6 separate regions of the Homo sapiens genome follow, and all the other regions are linked to region 6. Evidence: promoter capture Hi-C in 16 types of primary human blood cells and fetal thymus (Javierre and others, 2016). All regions are on one chromosome and are shown on one strand. The core of a region is centred on a gene start or on the middle of the fragment in contact, and the rest is flanking DNA. Distances in the headings are between cores, read along the strand shown. Region 1 overlaps PGM1 (phosphoglucomutase 1). Region 2 overlaps MIER1 (MIER1 transcriptional regulator). Region 3 overlaps PGM1 (phosphoglucomutase 1). Region 4 holds the start of EFCAB7 (EF-hand calcium binding domain 7). Region 5 overlaps PDE4B (phosphodiesterase 4B). Region 6 holds the start of JAK1 (Janus kinase 1).

Evidence for each region. The method cuts DNA at HindIII sites, captures the fragments that hold promoters and counts their contacts. A CHiCAGO score of 5 or more calls a contact.
Region 1: a fragment that was not itself captured here is called in contact with the fragment with the promoter of JAK1 in region 6 in 5 of 17 cell types (naive CD8 T cells, total CD4 T cells, fetal thymus and 2 more); the score reaches 6.2 in naive CD8 T cells.
Region 2: a fragment that was not itself captured here is called in contact with the fragment with the promoter of JAK1 in region 6 in 1 of 17 cell types (activated CD4 T cells); the score reaches 6.2 in activated CD4 T cells.
Region 3: a fragment that was not itself captured here is called in contact with the fragment with the promoter of JAK1 in region 6 in 1 of 17 cell types (neutrophils); the score reaches 6.8 in neutrophils.
Region 4: a contact is called between a fragment that was not itself captured here and the fragment with the promoter of JAK1 in region 6, in 1 of 17 cell types (naive CD8 T cells). The highest score is 6.2, in naive CD8 T cells.
Region 5: a fragment that was not itself captured here is called in contact with the fragment with the promoter of JAK1 in region 6 in 1 of 17 cell types (non-activated CD4 T cells); the score reaches 5.3 in non-activated CD4 T cells.

Annotation. Positions count from the first base shown.
Region 1 is chr1:63,594,360-63,598,208 of GRCh38, forward strand. The region is part of intron 1 of PGM1 (phosphoglucomutase 1); the gene reads left to right. Among named protein-coding and RNA genes, the nearest start is that of PGM1, 2.9 kb to the left of the region's middle. RefSeq lists an enhancer at 29-88. The HindIII fragment of the contact is 626 bases long and covers 938-1,563 here.
Region 2 is chr1:66,932,261-66,936,056 of GRCh38, forward strand. The region is part of intron 2 of MIER1 (MIER1 transcriptional regulator); the gene reads left to right. Among named protein-coding and RNA genes, the nearest start is that of MIER1, 9.2 kb to the left of the region's middle. The HindIII fragment of the contact is 1,149 bases long and covers 1,645-2,793 here.
Region 3 is chr1:63,620,809-63,624,149 of GRCh38, forward strand. All of the region lies in intron 1 of PGM1 (phosphoglucomutase 1), which reads left to right. Among named protein-coding and RNA genes, the nearest start is that of PGM1, 29 kb to the left of the region's middle. The HindIII fragment of the contact is 2,177 bases long and covers 326-2,502 here.
Region 4 is chr1:63,523,511-63,527,222 of GRCh38, forward strand. It overlaps EFCAB7 (EF-hand calcium binding domain 7), which reads left to right and starts at 15. Exons shown (of 14, transcript NM_032437.4): 1 at 15-124; 2 at 2,062-2,249. The coding sequence starts at 2,063. It also overlaps a transcript of ITGB3BP not described here. The HindIII fragment of the contact is 1,809 bases long and covers 551-2,359 here.
Region 5 is chr1:66,301,358-66,305,013 of GRCh38, forward strand. The region is part of intron 7 of PDE4B (phosphodiesterase 4B); the gene reads left to right. Among named protein-coding and RNA genes, the nearest start is that of SGIP1, 230 kb to the right of the region's middle. RefSeq lists an enhancer at 33-92. The HindIII fragment of the contact is 449 bases long and covers 2,042-2,490 here.
Region 6 is chr1:64,965,126-64,968,455 of GRCh38, forward strand. It overlaps JAK1 (Janus kinase 1), which reads right to left and starts at 1,424. Exons shown (of 25, transcript NM_002227.4): 1 at 1,208-1,424. RefSeq lists a silencer at 769-1,648. The HindIII fragment of the contact is 15,152 bases long and covers 1-3,311 here.

The DNA of each region.
Region 1 (3,849 bases), core at 1-2,500, 1.4 Mb before region 6:
TCCTGCCCTTTGCGCGGCCTGCTTGCTGGGGGGCAGGCGTTTGAAACATCTAGTCTCTGCCCAGTGGTGCCCGGGATCTGTTCCACCGACGGGGCTGGAGCTGAATTTTCATTAGAATGGCAACATACCCAAAGACGCCCTTACGCAAGCAAGCAGTCGTGGCAGGCCAGGAAATTACCGCAACACCTTGGTTCCGCCCCCGGCCAAGGAAAGTTAACTGACTTGATTGGGCGGGTCCACTCGGATAGGGGAAATTAAAAAAAAAAAGTTTTTCAGTAAATCTGATATATGGAAATGTGGGGCCGGGCATGGTGGCTCACGCCTGTAATCCCAGCACTTTGGGAGGCTGAGGGTGGTGGATCACCTGAGGTCAGGAGATCGAGACCATTCTGGCTAACACGGTGAAACCACGTCTCTACTAAAAAATACAAAAAAAAAAAAAAAAAAAAAAATTAGCCAGGCGTGGTGGCGGGCGCCTGTAGTCTCAGCTACTCGGGAGGCTGAGGCAGGAGAATGGCGTGAACCCGGGAGGCGGAGCTTGCAGTGAGCTGAGATCCCGCCACTGCACTCTAGCCTCGGCGACAGAGCGAGACTCCGTCTCAAAAAAAAAAAAAAAGAAAAAAAAAGTGGATTGATAAGTTGGGGCTAATTATTCACTTACTTTTGTAAAACATTTCTAAGGAGTTCTGAGGACCAAGTTTTCTTTCTATATTTTAAGTGAGATTTGACTTATGCCCAATTCTTCTGGAACGCATCCCCTGAAATGGATATTTTTATTCATTTTAATAGTACTTTATTTATCTTATTTTGTTGACATTGAGTACTATTTGCCAAGCACTATGGTAAGCGCTTCATTTCTGGGTCTCATTTATCCTCCTGCAGCCCTATAAGGTAGATGCTATTATGGGTATCTTCAAGTTGCCAACGAGGACGCTGAAGCTTAGGTAGGTTAAATAATTTACAAAAACTATAATGGCAGCACTAAGAGTCCAATATAGATCTGCCAATCCCAAGAACTTGAACAGCTCCTGAGAATGAAGAATGAACAGCCCTTGATCTTGAAGATCTGTTTTCCAGGCTCCAAAATCTAAACTGGGCTCTATCTACATCTGCCTTCCTGGGCCAAACATTTATAAGCATCAGTGAGAGAAGATTGCCTGGATTTGTTTACTTTGTGGTCCTGAATTTTCAGACAAGCGCAAATTCCCATGAAAGAAGAACAGACAATAGCTGTATCCCAGTAGATCATTTCCCTGTTACCACCTGTGCTGAATTTGCATTTCATTCATTCATTCATTTATTCAGTCAGTCATTCAACAGATCCTGTTGAATACCATGTTCAGAGAAATGTGTGGACTAAAAGGATGATGCAGACCCAAGAGTTGTCCTTAAGGAGCTTACAGCAGAGTGGGAATTTTAGGTGCCCAGATGGAAATTTGTCCATTTGGGAGTAGTGTGGGGTGGGAAGGAAAGAATTAGTTAAGACTAAAAAAAAAAGTTCTTAAAACTTCATCACCCTTTAGCCATTGCCCTATTGCTCTTCTCTCAGCCAACCTTTGTAAAAGCTTTCTGCATTCACTATTTCTCATTCTCACCTCCGGTTTACTCGCCATTTCACTGCTTCTGCCCCCTCCACTACTCCAGTAGAATTGCTCTTGCCAAAGTTACTAGGGACTTGCCAGTTGCTAAATTCATGGAATACACTCTGGTCTAATCTTATTTGGCCTTTCTGCTGCATTTGGCAGTGCTGATTTTGTACTCTTGTAAAGTTCTTCCTCCCTTGGCCTTGCTTACTCTCCTGATTCTACTCACACTTTTTGGAAGTTCCTTCATGGGCTGCACATTGACTATCCCCTAGGTTTCTTTCTTCTTTCTTTCTTTCTTTTTTCTTCTTCTTTTTTTTTTTTTTTTTTTTTTGAGACGGAGTCTTACTCTGTCGCCTAGGCTGGAGTGCAGTGGCGCAATCAGCTCACTGCAACCTCTGCCTCCCAGGTTCAAGCAATTCGCCTGCCTTAGCCTCCTGAGTAGCTGGGATGACAGGCATGCACCACCACACCTGGCTAATTTTTATATTTTTAGTAGAGATGAGGTTTCACCATCTTGGCCAGGCTGGTCTCGAACTTCTGATCTCAGGTGATCCACCCTCCTCGGCCTCCCAAGGTGCTGGGATTACAGGCGTGAGCCACTGCGCCTGGCCTATTCCCTAGGTTTCTACGCTCAGGTTGTTCTCTGATTTTGTTCACTCTCTCTACTCACTCGGGATTTAAATATGCTACTCTTTCTCTTGTGATATGATTCAGTCCAGATGGCATCTTCAGAAACCTTTCTTGACACCCCATCCCTACCACTCTTCTCCACCTATTAAGTGCTCCTTTCCCATAGATAATTCTAGAATATATATATTAAATTCTAGTGAAATTTTCCGTTTACATGTCAACGGCCTCCAACTAGAGAGTAAGCTTCTTTAAGTCAGACCTGTGTTTTACCTGTATCTGCAATGCCTAGGACTATGTAGCATTCAATGAATTCTTGTTTATTTGCTCTGAACTGTGAGTCACTTTTGTATTCTAGCACTTGATTTAAAGCCAGCATGTAGCTGGTGACCAATAAATTTATTCACATCAAACATTTATTATGTGCTTGCTTTGCCTCAGACATTGTACTTGAGATACAAAATATTTTTGCCCTTGGGAAAGACATAGTCTGGGAGGGGTGGTATACAGGAGTAAGCAGACAGCACAATGTGTCAGGTGTTGTGATGGAGGGATGTGCAGGTGTCTTTAACCTGAGGGGCTGTACTTGGGAGGGGAAGATGAAGGGAGGGAGGCTCCATAGAGGGGTGGTAGCCGAATTGAGTCTTAAAGAATGACTTGGAGTTCCCAGAGTGGGTTTGTCTGGTAGGAGGAATTCTTAGCAGAATGAATACAAATTGAGGGAGTTTAGATTAGATACAAATACAAATTTCTAGTCCTTTTTTGTTTCATCCACAAAGGTTGGGAATAATACATACCTGAAGAGCCTGTTGTGAGGATTAGATGAAACAACATATTTACAAGTACCTCACTTGGAAACTGTTCGAATGATAGGTGTGTTATCAATGTTTTGTTGGTATTAGGACACAATCCAACGTGATGCAGATATGAGCCACCCAGATGGTCTCCCACCTTCCTCTAATCCTCAACAGCCTCAACCAATATAGAGGGGTTCCGTGTTAGTCAGAGCCCAATTGGGTACAAATGACAAAAACCTTACTTGGATTACTCCAAGTGAAAAAGGAATTTTATTGGCCCATGTTACTGAAAAGTCCAAGAGAATCCCAACGAATTCTTTAGTTGAAACTATTCCTGGTCTCTAAAAATCACTTCTGGGTCTAATGATCTGCAAATGACCAGCATCAGAAATTGAGGAGAGTTTAAGCTCACAAATGAATGTGTGCATGTTTTGAAGGATGATTTATCACCACCCTAAGCAAAATAAAATAAATACCTTTGTGGGAACTTATGAGCAAGGAGGGTATTTGTTGTTGTTGTTGTTGTCAAGTTACAGGGATTCTTTTGTCACGGCTCCTTTGCTACTCATTTGTGCAAACTGTGGAGCCCCTTCTCAGAATATATATTTTTAAAAATTTGAGACATGGTCTTACTCTGTTGCCCAGACTGCAGCACAGTAGCGCGATCGTGGCTTACTGCAGCCTCAGTCTCCCCAGGTTCAGTTGATTCTCCCACCTCAGCCTCCTAAGTAGCTGGGGTCTACAGGTGCATGCCACCATGCCTGGCTAATTGTTTTATATTTTTTGTAGAGATGGGGTTTCACCAAGTTGCCCAGGCTGATCTCGAACTCATGGGCTCA
Region 2 (3,796 bases), core at 969-3,468, 2.0 Mb after region 6:
AATGTTTTGTGGGAACGCATGGATTGTTCAACTGCAAGAAGGAAAGAACTGGAATTTTGTTTTTATTTGGTTTTTAGTGTTTATTTAATGACCTGGTATCTTTAAACAATTTATCTTCTATATTCTTCAGTTACTTGTAGATAGTTTCATGTATAGTGAATTGGGGAAGAGTTAGAGGAACTTTCGTGATCTGTGTCCTACAAAAAAATCTAAGACAGGTGAAGAAGTGAAAAGTACAATTGATTTATAGTTTTCCTGGCCTCAATACTTGAATAATTATGACGATTTTTGAGACCAGTGGTTTTAAACAATTAGACAAAGGAGAAATGCTTGGTTGGCTTTTACTTTGAGCTCTCAGTAGATTCATTCTTTATGAAGCCAATATAAAAGCATGTGATTAAATAATCCAGATGCTGAATTATTGTGCTTTTGATCAAATAAATCTGAGGATTTAAGGATAGCTTGTGAAGTAACAGTAAGTGCAAAGCAACAGTATATATCTATTTGTTAAATCTGAGGGGGAAAACAGGTTATTGAAGAAGTATGTCTCCAGAGAAAAATGTAGGTATTATGCTTCTGGGCTTTTAAAAAAAAAAATTGATGCTTCCTACAAGAGCATGACCCTGACCATGTTTTTCCAGAAAAATATTTAATTCTTGAATAGAAAGTGCTTTAGATGAGAATAGGATATACTAATTTTTTATATTTGATCTGATTATCTTAGTCCATAATAGGAAGTATATATTGGTTCTTCAGTTGTGATAACATTAAAGCCGTATTTAATGTACTTAGAATAAATAGCATATGCTCCCTTGCTTAATACTTTTTGGCAATATTTCTCATTGCTTATTATCCCTTAAAATTATTTACCAACCTTCTAAAAGGACGCTCTCCTAGTCACACTTGAAGGAAATTACAGGATAGTTGCAGTTTTACTAACTGCAAAAATAAGAGGAAAATGAGAGAAAAAATGAGAGGAAGAAATAGTTAATCCTTTGGGTTTTATAAGGAATGTACTAGGGACCTTTGGGAACGAACAATTTGTCTTGTATTTTAGCGTTTGTAAACACGTAAGGGACTTTCTTCTCAAGGAAAAAAATCCATGGACAATTCAAGACCTGTCTTTTCACCTAGGCCACATTTCTGTGATATAAAGAGAAAATTAATGGATTTGCTTCTTTCTATTTAAGTATTTTAGTACTTTCAAAGAGGGTATATAATCTGTTTATTCACTTTCACACCTATCCATTTCTCTTTAAAATGGACTCCTTGCTTAGTATTTTTTGAGTGTATTTGGATTTTTTTAACGAAGGATTATGTTAAATGTTACTTATGAAAACATTAATTTCTACTCTAAGCAAAATGTGTTTCACTGCAGTGAATTTAAGCTTCAAATAATTCTCGACACTAATAATGAATTTTTTTTCATGTTTATACTTCAGAGCTATTAAGATTTTAAAAGTAGTCAAGATCACCAGTGCGTGAGAGTCCTAAAAATCTTAATTCATTGGCAGTTAAGAGTTAGGGTACTTTAATAGGTGGGAAAGGTTTGGTGGGAGAAACAAGTGAATTACTTTAAGATAATTCTGGTAAGTGAGACTAACCAGTTTTCTAAATAATTCAGAAATAAAACACTGCCATTGAAGCTTAAGCATGTCTTTATGAAAAGTAATCAGCTATCTAGAAATGCCTGCCTGGCTTGATGTTCATTCAAAATTCATTGCAGTGATTAAATTGTTCAAGTACCAGTCATTGCTTGGGGCTTGTTCTGTTTGTCTTATTCTGTGGCTTAGAACAATAACTTATTATGTAGGTATGAAATTCATGAAGTAGCACCCCAAAAAATTGTTTTTGCAAATTGAGATTTTTTTAACAGTCCTAGATTTAAAAAAATAAATTTAAACATATCCCATGCATTTAGCTGCATACTCCTTAGTAGTGTTAGGTTTCTAGAGCAATTTATAATAAAAGTAAAGTTAGGTCTTGAAGAAATCTAAATCTTTTGATCATAGAGAAAATGAAAGTGAGCAGAGAGTTTACGTAGTTTGTCCTAGGTCGTGCAATTCATCTATGGCACAGTTTAGACTGGAACCCAGCCTTCTGTATTCCTAGATTCCTAGTGCTTATTTTCTTTTTCTTTCTTTCTTTTTTTTTTTTTTTTGAGACAGGGTCTCTCTCTGTTGCCCAGGCTGGAGTGCAGTGGCGCAAATCATAGCTCACTACAACCTCAAACTCCTGGGCTCAGGTGATCAATCCTTCCCTCAGAGCCTCTCAAGTAGCTGGGACTATAGGCATGTGCCATCATGCCCGGCTTTTTTTTTTTTTTGTGGAGACAGGGTCTCGATATGTTGATCAGACTGGTCTCGAGCTTCTGGCCTTAAGTGATCCTCCTGTCTTGTGCTGGGATTATAGGCGTGTGCCACTGTTCCCAGTCCTTATTTTCTATGATATCATTTTACTTCTGAATTATTAATACTGTAGTAAATTGCTAATTTTAATTTCAGTACATTCTTAACCTTTTTATACCCCAGAATTCCTGAGAGTAATAACAAAGTTAAGTAACTTAATTTTATTGGAGGAGAGGGATGGTGAGCCAGCCCTTGGCACGGTAACCATCTTTCACCCTAAAGTAGGACCCCTCTTTCCAGGCTTCTATCCCCATCTCCATTGCTGTGAGAATCTCTGACTTAGAGTCTACATAACTAAGTAGATGACGGCAATACTTAAAAGAAATGGTGGTAGAATTGTTTTGAGGGGAAAAATTTGTTCAGACGGTAATACTCATTGCAAATAAGCTTTTGATTGCCTGGAATAAAAAAATCTAGTAATTACTTCATGTTTTTACTATGTTGTTGTTAGGGTTTTTTTGGTGAAAATAATGGTAATGTTGTAGTTAGTTATTTCTTTACTCTCTCTCAAATTATAGTCTTCTGTTGTATGGGACATTTCCCACCATGTTCTAGAAAAATATAAAAGAGAATTATTTCAGCAAATCTGAGGCATTGAATATTCGTTACAACTATTAGCAATTTTATCAACTAAATCATACAAATATGTGGGTGAGGGTCAACTTGCTATAAAAGTTGCTAGAGTTTGTTTTTAATTTGTTTTAGCCCATTCATACTCTGTGTACAGTCTTTCTGTCTCTCTAGTGTTGTTTTCCATCTCAGATAAGATAAATATGTACCCCCTAAAACACTGAATTTTTCAAAATTACAGCTTAAAAAATAGTAACAAGTACTAGGTTTTCTTAAAAATCAAAATTTAGAGGAAGAAAATGAAAATGTCTCATAATTCCACAAGATAATCAGTTCCCAGTGACTTTCATTTTAAGAAAGAATGCATAGTACATGAAAGTGGTTAGAAAATTTCAACAGTACAGAAAGGTATTAAATGAAAAAAGCCTCTTCTCCCTGACCCCATTCCCTAGAGGTAACTATTGTTAACAGGTTCTTGTATGTCCTTTTGAGGAAAAAAAATTTATTCCATATTATTTCATATTCCAGCCCAGTTTACGCCCTGTTCTACAGTTTTCTTTATACTCCTAATTTTTTTTGGCATTTATTTCTCTATCAACACAAACAGATATCTCTATTTTTAATGGAGTCATAGTGTTCTATTGTTTGGAAGAACTATGTATGGAAGAACTATGTATCATTTCTAATCAGCTAATGCATGGACTTTAAATGTTTTTCTACCTTTTTGTTATGAACAACTTTGTGGTAGTGAATGTTTTATATATATATGTCTTGGTGTCTTTTTTAAAATATATCAGTAGGATAAGTTCAGGTTAGCA
Region 3 (3,341 bases), core at 164-2,663, 1.3 Mb before region 6:
CATATGGTTTAAATGTAATTTGTGTCATTGTGAAGGAGTACTGGCAATGCAGGCGAATTCATTAGGCCAAATTGGGTTCGCTATGCTCGACAGTAACGTTTCTGAAGATGAAGTTCAACCTTTGCTGGAGAGCTAAAACAAATGAGTTTCTTAATAGCTGCCCCACTTAGTCTGAGTGTCTTAGGAAGCTTAATGTTTTTAATGTCTCTTCTTTTTTACTATACTTCACAGTCCATCTAACATTGCTGCTTCTGGTAATATTTTTATATGGGGTTGAGTTCTATAGTGTTCATAAAATTATGATCAGGCCCATTTTTAGAATAGAAGCTTTTCTAGGGCAAGGATTATGTTCTTTTGGTATAGTTTTGCATATTGACAAACACCATGCCTGGCATGTGTCGTTGCTTAAAATGTTGCTCTCGTAATTCTGCCCTCAGAAAGAACTTCACCGAGAGACTGGGAGGCTGCCAGCAGAGACTATGCTGGAGTGTGGTGTATTATGTGGGCAGAGAGGCTTTGGTATGGGATGTGGGAATATCCTTGTGCCCAAGTACCCCCAAATTTACCCTGGGATTTCAAGATCTCATTAAGAAAACTACCAATTATGTGGTTGGCTGCTCTGTTATTCCAATGAAAAGATTATTGGAATGATATTTTATAAATCTGGATCTATTATCGGATATGTCAAGACACACATGCCAGCCTAATTCACAAGCCCATATAAAACCAGGGAAAACTTGGCACAGAACTTACAAAATAGGAATTTAAAAAATCATTTATAGTACGTTGAAAAACAGTGGTTATGTAAACTGTTAATAAAGCATGCTTGCTTTTTCAATTAATTTCTAAAGAATTTGACTTTTAAAAACAAATTAAGAGCCCAAAATAAGCTATAAAAAGTAGTCGTCTTTTGGCTGACTGGTTTTCAACATAATAGATGTGTTTTGTGAATTGTGTTAATGTTATGTCTCGAGGTATTTCCTGCACATGGGCCAGGCCCATTTGTCATTTGAAGGGGCTCCCTTGCCAGTGGCCTACTTTCTGCTTGTGAGCCTGTTATTCCTGCTGGTCTTGTGCAGAGCAGCCCCGGAACACAGCGGCATTCTTGACAGAGGGCAGTTGGCAGCTACCAGTGCCTGTCTACTTTCGGATGCTACTTGACAAGTTAGTATAAAAAGACTCAGATTTTGTTGCTCAAGGGATGATTCACTTTTCCCTTCAAAACCTTAATTCCTCAGTGCATGTTTGGTCTGTTGTCCAGGCTGGAATACAATGGCACGATCTTAGCTCACTGCAATCTCAGCCTCCCAGGTTCAAGCAATTCTCCTGCCTCAGCCTCCCAAGTAGCTGTGACTACGGGTGCACGCCACCATGCCTGGCTAATTTTTGTATTTTTAGCAGAGACAGGGTTTCACCATGTTGAACAGACTGGTCTCGAACTCCTGACCTCAGGTGATCTGCCCACTTTGGCCTCCCAAAGTGCTGGGATTACAGGTGTGAGCCACCATGCCTGGCTGAGAACACACATGTATGTATTTAAATAGATCATTAATAAAATCTCAGGGATCAAATGGAATTAGATATGAAATTTATTTAGGTAAAATATTTTTAAACATCCTAGTTTCTTCAAATACAAAGGACTTAAACTGCTTCCCTAAAAACATTTTATTAAAAGTCAAGTATGCTTAAAACTGAGAAAATGTTAAAAACGAATCTCATGTTCATATTATTTTTCTAAATAAAAACTCGATCCAACCCTGTGTACTCAGAAAAACATATGTATATTTTTTCCGTGTTTTGCTTACATTTTTAAGGACTTGGTGCATCCTCACGCCTGTTTTTTTGTATATTCAAAGGAATGACCAAGCTGTTGGTTATTCAGGGCAACTTTGGAGGTATCTGTTCTTCTAGAACTGAACACTGTTTTCTTAAATCTTTGGTGGCCAATGAATAAATCTGTTAGATAATTTTTTTCCTGATAGATTGCATGTGTGAAGTAAAAATAATTTCTTAGGTTTCAAAATGACAGTGATGTAAGAAAACCAGGGGTAAATTAAGCTCCCTCACTTCCATTTTAAGATTGACCTTTAACTTGCTAGGTGGCATGGGGCAACTTTAGCTGCAGATGGCCTTCTCAGAGATGAATGCCCAGAGAGGCTCTGGTTTAAGGGATGGCAGGAGCAGTGAGAGCCACACCAGGGTGTCTTGTTCACAAATCTGCTTCGTGGGACTGCATTTGCCCTCTTTGCCTGGGCTCTGAGAGTGGAGCCTGTCAGCCACCTGGTGTTTACAGCTGAAGTTGGCTGCATGCAGCACTCCTTGGAGCTATCTCTACCCTAACGGGGAAATGAGACAAAAATAATTGAAGGGTATTTGGCTTGGTTAAGTGGGCAGAAGTGTCCTCATCAAAACAACTTTGAAGACCTGCTTTGTGTGTGGGTGCGAGTGGGTGTGTGGCCCTTAACTTGTTCACAAGGGACAACAACAACAAGGAATTAACCAAGCTTTCTCATTGAGAGTGATCGTCCATGCAAACCCTCTATTTTAGTTACTCATACGACACTGTTGCAGCTTCAGGTTGGACAGACCTATTTTGGAGTCCCTTGACTGCTTTCTGGACACCCTCACTGAGCCAGTCGGTGGAAGTGAAGGATGAGTGATTTTGAAGAATGGATTTCTGGGACATATAGAAAAATGGAAGAAGGTCCTCTCCCTCTGTTGACTTTTGCTACAGCTCCCTACCACGATCAGAAACCAGGAACAAGTGGATTACGGAAGAAAACCTATTATTTTGAGGAAAAGCCATGCTATCTGGAGAATTTCATCCAGAGTATATTCTTTTCCATAGACCTAAAAGATCGCCAGGGATCATCACTGGTGGTTGGTGGAGATGGGCGGTACTTTAATAAATCAGCAATAGAAACAATAGTGCAGATGGCAGCTGCCAATGGGGTGGGTATATGATAAGTATTGTTATGTTTCTGGCTCTCCAAATAACCTTAATTTTACAGAAGTATACAAACGTACAAGGATTTATATGTGGTATACACTTCAATTCTACTAACATCCAGCTAAGTTTCATTGTAACTTCAGTGATTGTATATTGTGAAAATACTTCAGAAATTACATTAGCCACACTGGGATACAGGAATGTTAAGTTCAGCTTCTTAGGTATTATGCTGTGTTCTGTTGCTTGACAAAGTACCTGTTGCTTTTTAGACATTTAAAGCACACTCCCGGTCTTAAGCTGTTTTATCTACATTCTAACTAGCTTCAAGGGGCACCCTGTCCTGTGTAAGAGGGCTCTACTGAATGGTGGAGAGAAGAGGATTTTGTTTTCT
Region 4 (3,712 bases), core at 205-2,704, 1.4 Mb before region 6:
TGGCGGTGAGGTGCAGTTGCCATGGTGATTAGAGAAAGGCCGAGATCTGTCCAGCTGCGGTGAGAGGAACGCTGAATCGCCGAAGAGAATTGGCTGCGCTTCCTTGTTTGTGAGCTAGAATTAGGTAGCAAACAGCTCGCTGTCTCTGTCTCTTCGCTCCCTCTGTCCCTCTCTGTGCAGCTGCTTCTCCTTCCTCTGCTTTGTCTACTTCTCTGTCATAAACATTTGGTCCATGTATGTACCTAAAATGTACATGTAAATGCGGTTTTATTTCCAGAGGAATACAAAAATAGAGAGATGGTGCCCGAGATTACCTGTGACGGTATTTCACTGTGTAGGGACGGTGACTGGACGGCTTTCTGTTTTCACTTGGCCCTGTAGAAGCCTTAGGCGCTTGTTAACAGTTTATTTTTCTTGCTATTGTGTGGCTGGTTATTTATGGAGCCGTTTGCTGCAATGTACTCTCTAGGCCCCTGTCTCAGTCTCGGGCCGGAGTTTTAAGTAAGGGAGGTTTCCAAGCCTGCGGGGGGTGCAATTATATGTTTATTTAAGCTTTAGTTTGGTTTCTCGTCACAGAAAGGAAAAGAATAAAATTCTGGCACATTTCTGCCTTGGGATTTCCATGTGAGGGAGTTGCCTTGTTTGGAAAGAATATTTGAGGACGATCCTAAAATATACTTATATTTTAAAATTGCTTATTGCAAAGTGAAATTCATTCTCCCTTACTTCTTGAAACAGTTTTCTTTCACATTTGTGAGGAGATGCATGCACACATATGTGTTTAGAACTCTGATGCTTAATTATAGTATTACCAATTTGCAGTAACCAGACTGTGACACCACATCCCTGTGGGGTCCTTCTAAATCTGGTGTAATATGAAAGTGTCAGGCAGGCGGCCTGCGTATTATAAATAGGGTACTTCATCCATGATAAGCAATTATTATCTTTCTTTCCCAAGTGTAAATGATCTATATAATTCGAAAAGGTGCAAGTGATTTAGGCCTCCTGAGTAGGAATGCAATGAGTCCTGAAGGGGACCCTACCTGTGTTATCTTATTATTGAACTTGAAATATTCAATTTATTAGGTTGGAGATCTATTTTTAGAAGTCAAAGCTGGGTAGAGTAATATTGGAAGCTGTTAGACCACCAGTAGAATCTAATACCCCATAGTAACCATTGTTCAGTACTATATCCACATTAACAAAGAAGAAACTGTTCGTGAAATTTACGGCTTTTTGCCACTTACTGCTAGCTGGGTGACATTGCTACCCCTCAATTTCCTCATCTGTAAAACGGACAAAAAAATACCTGACCGCTGTAATAGGGATAAGACAAGATGTATGACAGTTCTTTAAGCTCTTATGTACAGAGGTGCTATACAAACCCCAAATATTGTTATTAATAAAGGAACACAGTAAAACTATGATAATGCTATAAATAAGACTTTTAAAATATAGCTATTTGAAATGTGGGGCTGCATTATTGAGATGTTAATGAAATGATCTTGTTGATCCTGCTGTGGAAGATGGGTGTCAACTACCACTCATATCCCGATTCTCATTATTCTGGAGTTTCTCATTATCTGCAGTTTATTTAGCACTTACTACGTGTCAAGCAATATTGTATATGCTTCACATGTATTAACTGATTTGCTCCTCTTAAAAACCTGATGAAGACTGTCATCTGACTTTCGTATTTTGAGAGAATAGATGTGTGCTCTTCCTTTGTTCAGTGATTCTTCTCTTGTGTATATCTTTGTTCTTTTGGCTATTATCACATATTTGAACAATTATATATATACATATGTATATATCTAAAATTAGAAATTAACTGCCAAAGGCTTATTCTTGTTTAATATATAATACGTCCATATACAACTATAGTATTCGTCTTTTACTTCCACATATAAAACTTTTAATATCTTGATCTTTTCATATATGTTATAAATTTTCTTCTATGTATAAAATCTTGATTCTCCTCCCTGTATTTGAAAGACATGGTGACATTTGTGTTTTAGTGACTCACATTGACAAACACATTTTTAAATTATTTTCCAATAGAATGGCGATCAGTCCACGAAGCGATGCAACTTTCTCCAGTCAGAAATCAACACCTTCAGAGAGTCCTCGAACAAAGAAATTTCCACTAACTGAAGAGGAAATATTTTATATGAATTGTAGAGCTGCCTACTTAACTGTCTTCAAAAGCAGCTTGGAAAACATTATTTCTAAAGATCAACTTTACTTAGGTAAATTTTTAAAATTTTTAAATCTTTCACCTTTTTGTTGAAAGTTAATAAATAGGTCCGAAAGACTGAAATTAGAATTACCTTGTTGAATCATCCCAGTTTCTTAGTGAAGCTTGAGCAATGGAACTACAGTAAGCTATTATGTCATATCATATAGTTACATATTCTAGGAACTACAAAATAAAACTTTCAATGTTTATACAAACTAGATGGGTAATTGAAAGCTTCTATCAATTACTACTTGCTTAAGATACTTTTAATTCTCATTTTGGTGCTTTAAGATTTATCATAATAAAATTAAAACGCTTTTGGCCTCTTAAGTCACTAGCCTGAATTTGACCCATACTGAGGAAAGTGTAAAGGATGTGTAAAAATGGGTGGAATGTCTGAAAAAGTGAAGTACTGAGAGATAAGTGAACTTTTAAAAGAGAATTGAGTTGGGGTTTTTTTATTTCTTATTTTTATTTTTTGTTTTGTCTTTTATTGCTTCTGTCCTTTATCACATTTAAAAATTCCTCTCATTACAAAGGTCCCCAAAACCACCAAATTTGGTTCTTTCCAGGAGTATCAAATGATTTGGACATCTTTAGTCATGAGAGAGTAGTAAACAACAGTACTAGATAACACTGACTACTCATGTCAGTTTCATCAAGGCTAATAACTTTATGGGTAGAGAAACTGAGTTATTTTGCCAATTTTATAATGAATTTTCTTAAACCAAAACCCTGACATATTTGTGCAGCAGTGTCTTGAGTTTGTATCCAATAAGATCTATTTGAGGAAATGTATTTTGAGGAATACAAGAATTGACAAGATTAAAATTTATTTGATGTCTAAATAAAATACATTATTTGTAAAGTAGTTTAAATGCAAATGCACATGACTGACTTTTAAAGTCATGTTTAATTTTGATTTACATAATTTTAAAATTACTAAAATGCTCTATTTTGAATTTTAAGTATTTGTGTTTAATTCATATACATTAAATGTTTAGGCAGACATCCAATAAATTTTTTTTTTTTTGAGACGGAGTCTTGCTCTGTCTTCCAGGCTGGAGTGCAGTGGCGCGATCTTGATTCACTGCAGCCTCTGCCTCCTGGGTTCCAGCGATTCTCCTGCCTCAGCCTCCTGGGTAGCTGAGATTACAGTTGCACGCCACCATGCCTGGCTAATTTTTGTATTTTTAGTAGAGACGGGGTTTTGCCATGTTGGCCAGGCTGGTCTCGAGCTCCTGACCTCAGGTGATCTGCCTGCCTCGGCCTCCCAAAGTGCTGGCATTATAGGCGTGAGCCACCACGCCTGGCCAATAAATTAAAATTACTTCTAATTTGCCATTATTTCTAAAATAATCCGAGTTTTTTTTTGTTACTGTTTTGAAAATATACTAAGAGAAGGAATCTGCTAAGTTTAAAAGTTTAACATGCCTTCCACTACTATGGCATTTAGTTTGTGAATCAATGTGT
Region 5 (3,656 bases), core at 1,016-3,515, 1.3 Mb after region 6:
ATTCAAACCGTTTTCACTTTCATTTTGTTGTTGTCATTTTCTCTCCATTTGATCCTGAGGTAAAAAAGGACTAGTAATATTATCTCTATGTCACAGAGGAGGAACCAGAGGCACAGAGAGGCTTAATGACTTGCCAGGACCCTCAAGGCTATAAGCAGGAAAGCAGGGGCGAGACCACCAGGCTTCTTACCGCTAGGACAATGCTTTTTTTTTTTTCTAACTATGCCAGATTGCCAGTCCATATTTTTTTTAATTCAGGAAGGATTAGAGAAAAAATATTGCAAGCATATAAATGTAATCTCATGATAGAATAGTAACAATTACATAAAAATACTAAAGTTCATTTTAAATACTACCTAAACTAGGTCATGAATTCATCCTATAGCTTTTTCTCCCAGCAGGCATAATTGAGTTGCTTTCCCAAATGCCAGGTTATTCTACCCATGCGAGTTATAAAGACCTTTTTCTTGAAGGGATTACTGCTGAACTTCTCCTAAGTCATGACTTTGTGATGGGAGAGATATAAGTAACATGTTCGTTGGGCTTTTATAACTCTAGAGAAAGCTCTTCCTAAATCTTGGAGCTTACTGCTCAGCCAACTTATTGACTTTGTTTAGGAGGTGGCCATTAGCCTCTCAAACCACAGAGGTTTGGACTGTTCAACTACAGTAAGCCCAGAAGCAAAGAGAGATTAGAACACAGCATCACTGGGTGAAAATGGGGAAAGCTAAACTGCTTCGAAATTGCAGTGCTCTGTCCTATACTCATTTCTGGAGGAATCAAGAAGAGCCTGAAGCAGAAGTGACCCACTGGCCTTGGAGACAGGAGGCAATGGAAAAGCACAGTTCATCCACAAACCAGCCTCTCTGAGCATCAGCTTCCTAGCTGCGTGACATTCCCAAGACTCTTCCCTGCACTAATTTCCACATTTATAAAAAAGAACCACAGATGTGTCCTTGATGGTCATCTTACTGTCATCTGTTACCACCACATACGCTGTCTTGTTATGTGGCTTGGGAAAATCTATAAACTGGTCTTTTGGCTTTGATCACCTGATTGATTTACTGTCAGCAGATGATATTAAAATTAGCTTTCATTTGTTGAGCAAATCTGGATGGGCAATTGAGGTGGAAACAGGGAGTGGCCTGGGTGGTGGCTGGAATTAGAATAGTAATCTCTTGTGTTTTAGAGGTTACAAAGCACTTTCCCACATGTAGTCTCATTGAATTACTACAAAGTCCTGCAAGGGCTGGTATTCTTAACCTCATCAGACAAATGAGAAATTGATGTTCCGAAAGATAAAGTGACTGGTCAGCATTCACAAAAAGATTTGGTGGCAGTACAAAAAGTGGAATAAAAGCAAAAGCTCTTGCTTGCTTTCTGGTGCAACACATCAGAGATTGATTAGAATCTACTATAAGGCTTTTTGGCTATGCTGAGATGATCGACAATTAATTATAAAACACTGTCAACATAGACACTGGTGCTCTTCTCTTTCTGGGCTTTCATACCTGCTCTTCTTGAGGTTTCCCTCCCCAACCTCTATCTGTGTGTAACTCCTTCAGTTTATCACTTGGAAACCACTTCCTCTAAGAAGACCCAAGACCTTGCTAGATGCCCATCCTATGGGTTTCCATGGCATCCAAATATTACCCACACTCTGTTCATACCACTCTAATTCAATTGCCTGTGTTGGAATATAGCTCCATTTAGGCACTAAGAATACTTATTCACGAGTCATTCATGAGTGGTTATTTTTTCACCATTGTAACCACAACACCTTGAACAGTAGACCCTGGATAAACATTTCTTGAGAAAATGTTGCCTGATCTGCTGTAGCCAAGAGGAAGTTTTGCTTCCACATTGCCCTCAGGGCTGGGAGGGAATTAGAATCTCTTCCCCTACCCTCCTGCTTTATTAAGGTATAATGGACAAATAAAAATTATATATATTTATGGTGTATAGCATGATGTTTATATATATATGTGTGTGTGTGTATATATATATATATATACACACACACAGTGAAATGATTAAATCAAGCTTGTTAATATAATCTGTCACCTCATAGACTTTTTGTTTATGGTAAGAACATTTAAGATCTACTCTCTCAGCAATTTTCAAGCATACAATACCTTATTGTTAGCTAAAGTCACCGTGCTGTGCAATAGATTTCCATAGCTTATTCCTCCTAACAGAAACTTTGTACCCTTTGACCAATCTTTAAAGCCATCCAAGACAGTACCATTTCCAGAAGGAGGCTCTTAGGAATCCAAAGAAACCAAACTCTAGCTATTTGCATAAAATGTTAGATCATTCCCAGAAGTAAGCCTTAGAGTTGAGAGAGTACTAGAAGTGTGACAAGGATGGAGGTTAGCATTTGTGTATCCTTATGGGAAAACAGGTAAGAGCGGATATTTTTGGAGTTACTGGGAAACTTAACCATGACACTTGGCCTGCTTATGTGTCTGGTATTATTGCTGGGAACCAAGCTTCATGCCAAACCTCTAGCTATCAGATGTCAGTTTTGGGAAGAGACTTGAACTTGCTTATGTGGTTATTTATAACAGTAGTTTTCTATTTTGTGTCAGGTTAGAAGACACCATCACACCACTGAAATATGTTATCAGAACCACATGCAGATAGAATATCGTAAATATGGTAGATGATGAGCAAGACCTAGGACTCACAATTCAGGAAGATACAGAACCCAGCATTTAACCTAGTACCTACATGTACAAAATCCTTTCAGGTATTTAGGAGTTAATAAGCATATTAATATAATCATCCTACAAAATGAATTTGTCCAATCTTGTCAGTGAGGTCATTTCTGCAAAATTTTAAAGGGCTTGTAGAGTTTGACAAGAGATAAACATTACAGGCATTGTGCTGAATTTTCAGCAAAAGCAGTCATAGGCAATATAAAACAAAAGAGCACGACTGGGTTCTAATAAAACTTTATTTACAAAACTAAGAAGTGGACCACCATGTTTGCTACATCACGGTTTTCTGACCCTGGTAAAAATACACCTATCAATTCCCATTTTTACTCTTTCATTTCCTTCTGGAAATCTTTCCTATGTTCTCCATCATCCATAAGCTAAAGCCTAAACTCCTTAACTCTGCTCTGATCTGAACAGTCCCTCATATTTAGTGGTCCTTTTCCTCTCTTTGTGCTCAAGTCACATTTTTCCATGCGGATAATGCCATTCTCAATGCTTTCTACTTAGTCCAATTCTACCCATCCTTTAAGGTAGATGTCTTCAAATGACATAGAGGGGTCATATCAGAATCATCTGGGAAGCCTTTTGACAATAAACACAGTGCTCCTCTCCCACACTAAATTCTCGTAGACCCAGTGAGGAGAATGGGGAAAGCAGGGACATACAGGGTTGGAAAATGTCCCTCGCCTTATTCAAGAAATTCTCACCTTCTTTTAAAACTACTGCTATAGGACATTACTAAAATCCACTTCCTCCAAGAAGCTCTCCCTGATCACATAAACCCATACTCAGCTTTTCTTTCTGTGGACCTCCTCAGTCCTCAATGCTCACAAAATTCATTTTAACACCTAGAGTATTATTTGGCTATTTAAGCTTTTCCTGTGCCAGGCACTGTTATAGGTACTGGTGTACAGCAGTGAACATGACAGTGAA
Region 6 (3,330 bases), core at 174-2,673:
TAGCCAAAACCAAACACGCCCTGATTTACATCTCTCTCTGCATTATTCTCATCACTTAACTACCCATGTTTTACTCCCTGAAAGAAGTAATGACAATTTTATACCACTGTAAATTCCTGCCAGTGAGAGAAAAACCCTATGACTTGGGGGGAAAAGTGTCAATGACATGTATAGCGATGTACTCAACCAGGGGCAGAAGGCAGCTCACAGCCACGTAGTAAGAAGAGTGGCAGGAAGGACGGGGTCCCCTTCCCCAGGAACACACAGGAAATCATGGAGTGCAAACCCTCCAAAAAACGTGTGCACAAACACCTGGCAAACATCGCATCTTTTATCTAGAAGTTCCGTGGTAAACACACATCCAAGGAGCCCACATCCCAGGGACCCTGGGGAGTGACTTTGGAGGAGTGTCTATTAGTCCTCCGATGCTCCCGGTCGCCGACGATGCGCGGATGGAGTTGGAGTGAGGGAGCCAGAGACCAGCCCCAGTTTCGGTTAATCAGTCCCTTTCCAGTGGGATTCGCAATTCCCCGGGTAGTTCTCTCCCACTGTTCCCCTTCCCTGGTCCTCTCGCCCAGGGTCTCCTTTCCCACTTCTCGCTGGCTACCTGAGGCCTGGTTCCTAACAGAACCTAAGAGGGGAGGGGGCGTTTCCCGAGTTCGCGGACGCCCAACACCCAGCTCCAAATCCCAGAAACTTTCCCTCGCTGAGACCGCAAGGAAGGAAAAAAGCTAAGACCCTCAGCCTCCTTCCTGGGGCCGAAGAAGAAAACCTTTCTGCGCTGCCACCCCGGCCGGGAGCTGGCGGTCAAGTTCGCGGTACAAGGAGCTAGGGACGTCAGCCCTCCAGCCCGCGCCTGTATCTCGGGGTGGTATAAACAGGATGTCAGACAGCGCGCTCCGGGCTTGTTTATGAAAACTTGCCGTGCGCGCTGGGGGAGGGGGCGGCCTGGCTTAACCGCTCTTCTCCCGGCCGGGGGCCCCCGCCCGGCGACCTCCTCGCCGCCCGCCGGCTCCGCGGGGCTGGAAATCCCCGCCTTCCCCGCCCGAGCCGCGGGGTCCTGAGCTGCGCTCAGGAGCAGCCCGGGCCGCGCAGCCTAAGGACCGACCAAGAGCGGTGGCCGCGCCTCCGGCCAGTCCGGGCTGCGCGCCCCTCGCCTGCCGACCGCGGCCGCCCCGGCTCCTCCACCTCCCCCGGTGACACTCACCACTTCCGTGTGCGCCTGGGCCAGGCAGCGCCCCGTCGCTGCGCTGGCTGGGGTCGACCGGCAGGCTCGCTAGGCGGCCAGCCCCGCGGGGCCCCAGCGTGCGCGCGCCCAGGGCTGAGGAGGGGTCGCGGCGAGGACAGCCGGGACTGGGCGCAGGCCCGCACTGTCTGCAGCTCCAGGATACTCCGCGGCCGCCGCGGCCTGCGCTCAGCGACGCACCGCCTCCCGTCCCGCCCCGCCCCGCCCCGCGGCCGGCCCCACCCCCGTGGCCGCCGGGCCCACCCCCTCGCGACGTCACCAGCGGCAGCCCCGGAAAGCGGGGCGGGGTCGCGGTCCCGGCGGAGACTCTGCGCCTCCGGCCTACCCGCCCCGCCCCCATCCGGCTTCGCTCGCGAAGCTGCCCCCACTCGTCTCTGTTCACCGCGTCCTCTAGATTCTAGAATCTAGAAACTCATCTAGGACGCGAGGTCATCTATCGCGGGGAGTAAAATTGCCAGGATTCGCCCGTAGATTGACCCCTCCCAGCTCTGGAGCCCCCTCCGCCACACCTTTGTGCGCTCGATGCAGAAATGCATCCCGCCTCCTCCGTATACGCTCCGCTTCTTACCCCAGCTCAGTAGGAGAGGAGCTAGTGGAGCACTAGACTAAAAAGAATTTAACAATACAGCCCCCAGCTTGGACAAGCTACTGCAGATCCAACCCATTCCGTATTTTAAAAGCTCTTTACGAAAAAAAAAAAAGCATATGCATAATAGGAATTAGAACTACATTCACTGATACCTAATGCATGTACAGCGCTTTTCATTTTTTACTAATAACCTCTCAAAGTAGTAGCATCATCTTATCCATGAGGAACAAATTAAGTCTTTAGTGTCTTAATCAAGGTCACACTGTAGCCAAGATTCATACTTCGTAGGCAGTCCACGGACAAATCCTAACAATTTTATTTCCTTAGGTATCTCTCCAATCAGTTCACTTGTCTATGTTCCGGCAACACGGTCCGAGCTGCCACCATCTCTCACCTGAAGGGACCACGAACATCTCTTAAATCGTCACTCCATTCACTCCAGCCCCCAATTAATTCTCTACAATGAACTTTTAAAAATTCAAATCTGTTCCACACACTCCCATGCTTAAAACACTCCAGCGACTTCCCCCTGACAATCCCTGGATGAAAATCCTCCGAGGCCGTGCACGGTCAGAATTCTGCAGCTTCAGGGCTGTGGACAGAGGCTGCCCCACCTGTGCTGACTTCACTAACCCTGCTGGACAGTTCCTGATCACTTGAGTTACTGCAACTGAAACTGAGCAAGATATTCTGGGTGTGGAATAAAGTCAAGCATCCGAATTAGACTACTGAATTTGAGGTTTGGCCTCCACCAGTAACCACCTGTGTTGCCCTAAACAATTCTTAGTTGACTCAATTCTCAGTGGAGCAGCAGACAAAAGGATCTCCAAAGTGCCTTCCAGAAGTACAGAAAAGAGGACCAAAGAAGACCGGAGATCAGAGCAGACAGGGAGGCAACCCGGGTTGCCTGCATTGTGGGTGTTTGTGTGCAAGTCTTGTCTCATCTGCCACACTCTGAACAACACCTCAGGGCTGTTTGCATCATTTTCTTCACCTGTTAAATAGGGATAATGCCTTCCTTAAAGGGGTTTTGCTGAAGGTGAACTATGATAATATAGCCCACATGGCATGGGCTCAGGAAGTGGTAGGGGTTTTTATTGAGCTGGACCATAAAGAACAGGTGAGACTGACATGAAGGGAGACAGAGACGTGAAAGAACAGCATTTCAGGTGAGGATGTAAAGAAAAAGGAAAGTCAGGAAGGCAGCAGTGAACCCATTGTGCCCACGAACGAATCTGGCTGTTCACAGGGTGGAATCAGGGGGAGAGGGCCTGGATTCAGTTTAGATCTGTTCGTCTATAACAGACATTGTGCTAGGTGATGAAGATTCAGAGAAAAAAAAAATAGACTAGGTTCCTGACCTCTGAATGCTCAATGCAGTCAGAGAGACAGGCAAGTAACAATTCAGTGATTCCCGGTCCTGTAATGGTGATCACAGAAGACAGTCACCCAGCCGAGTCTGAGGAAGTCAGAATAAGCTTCAAGTAGCCGACAG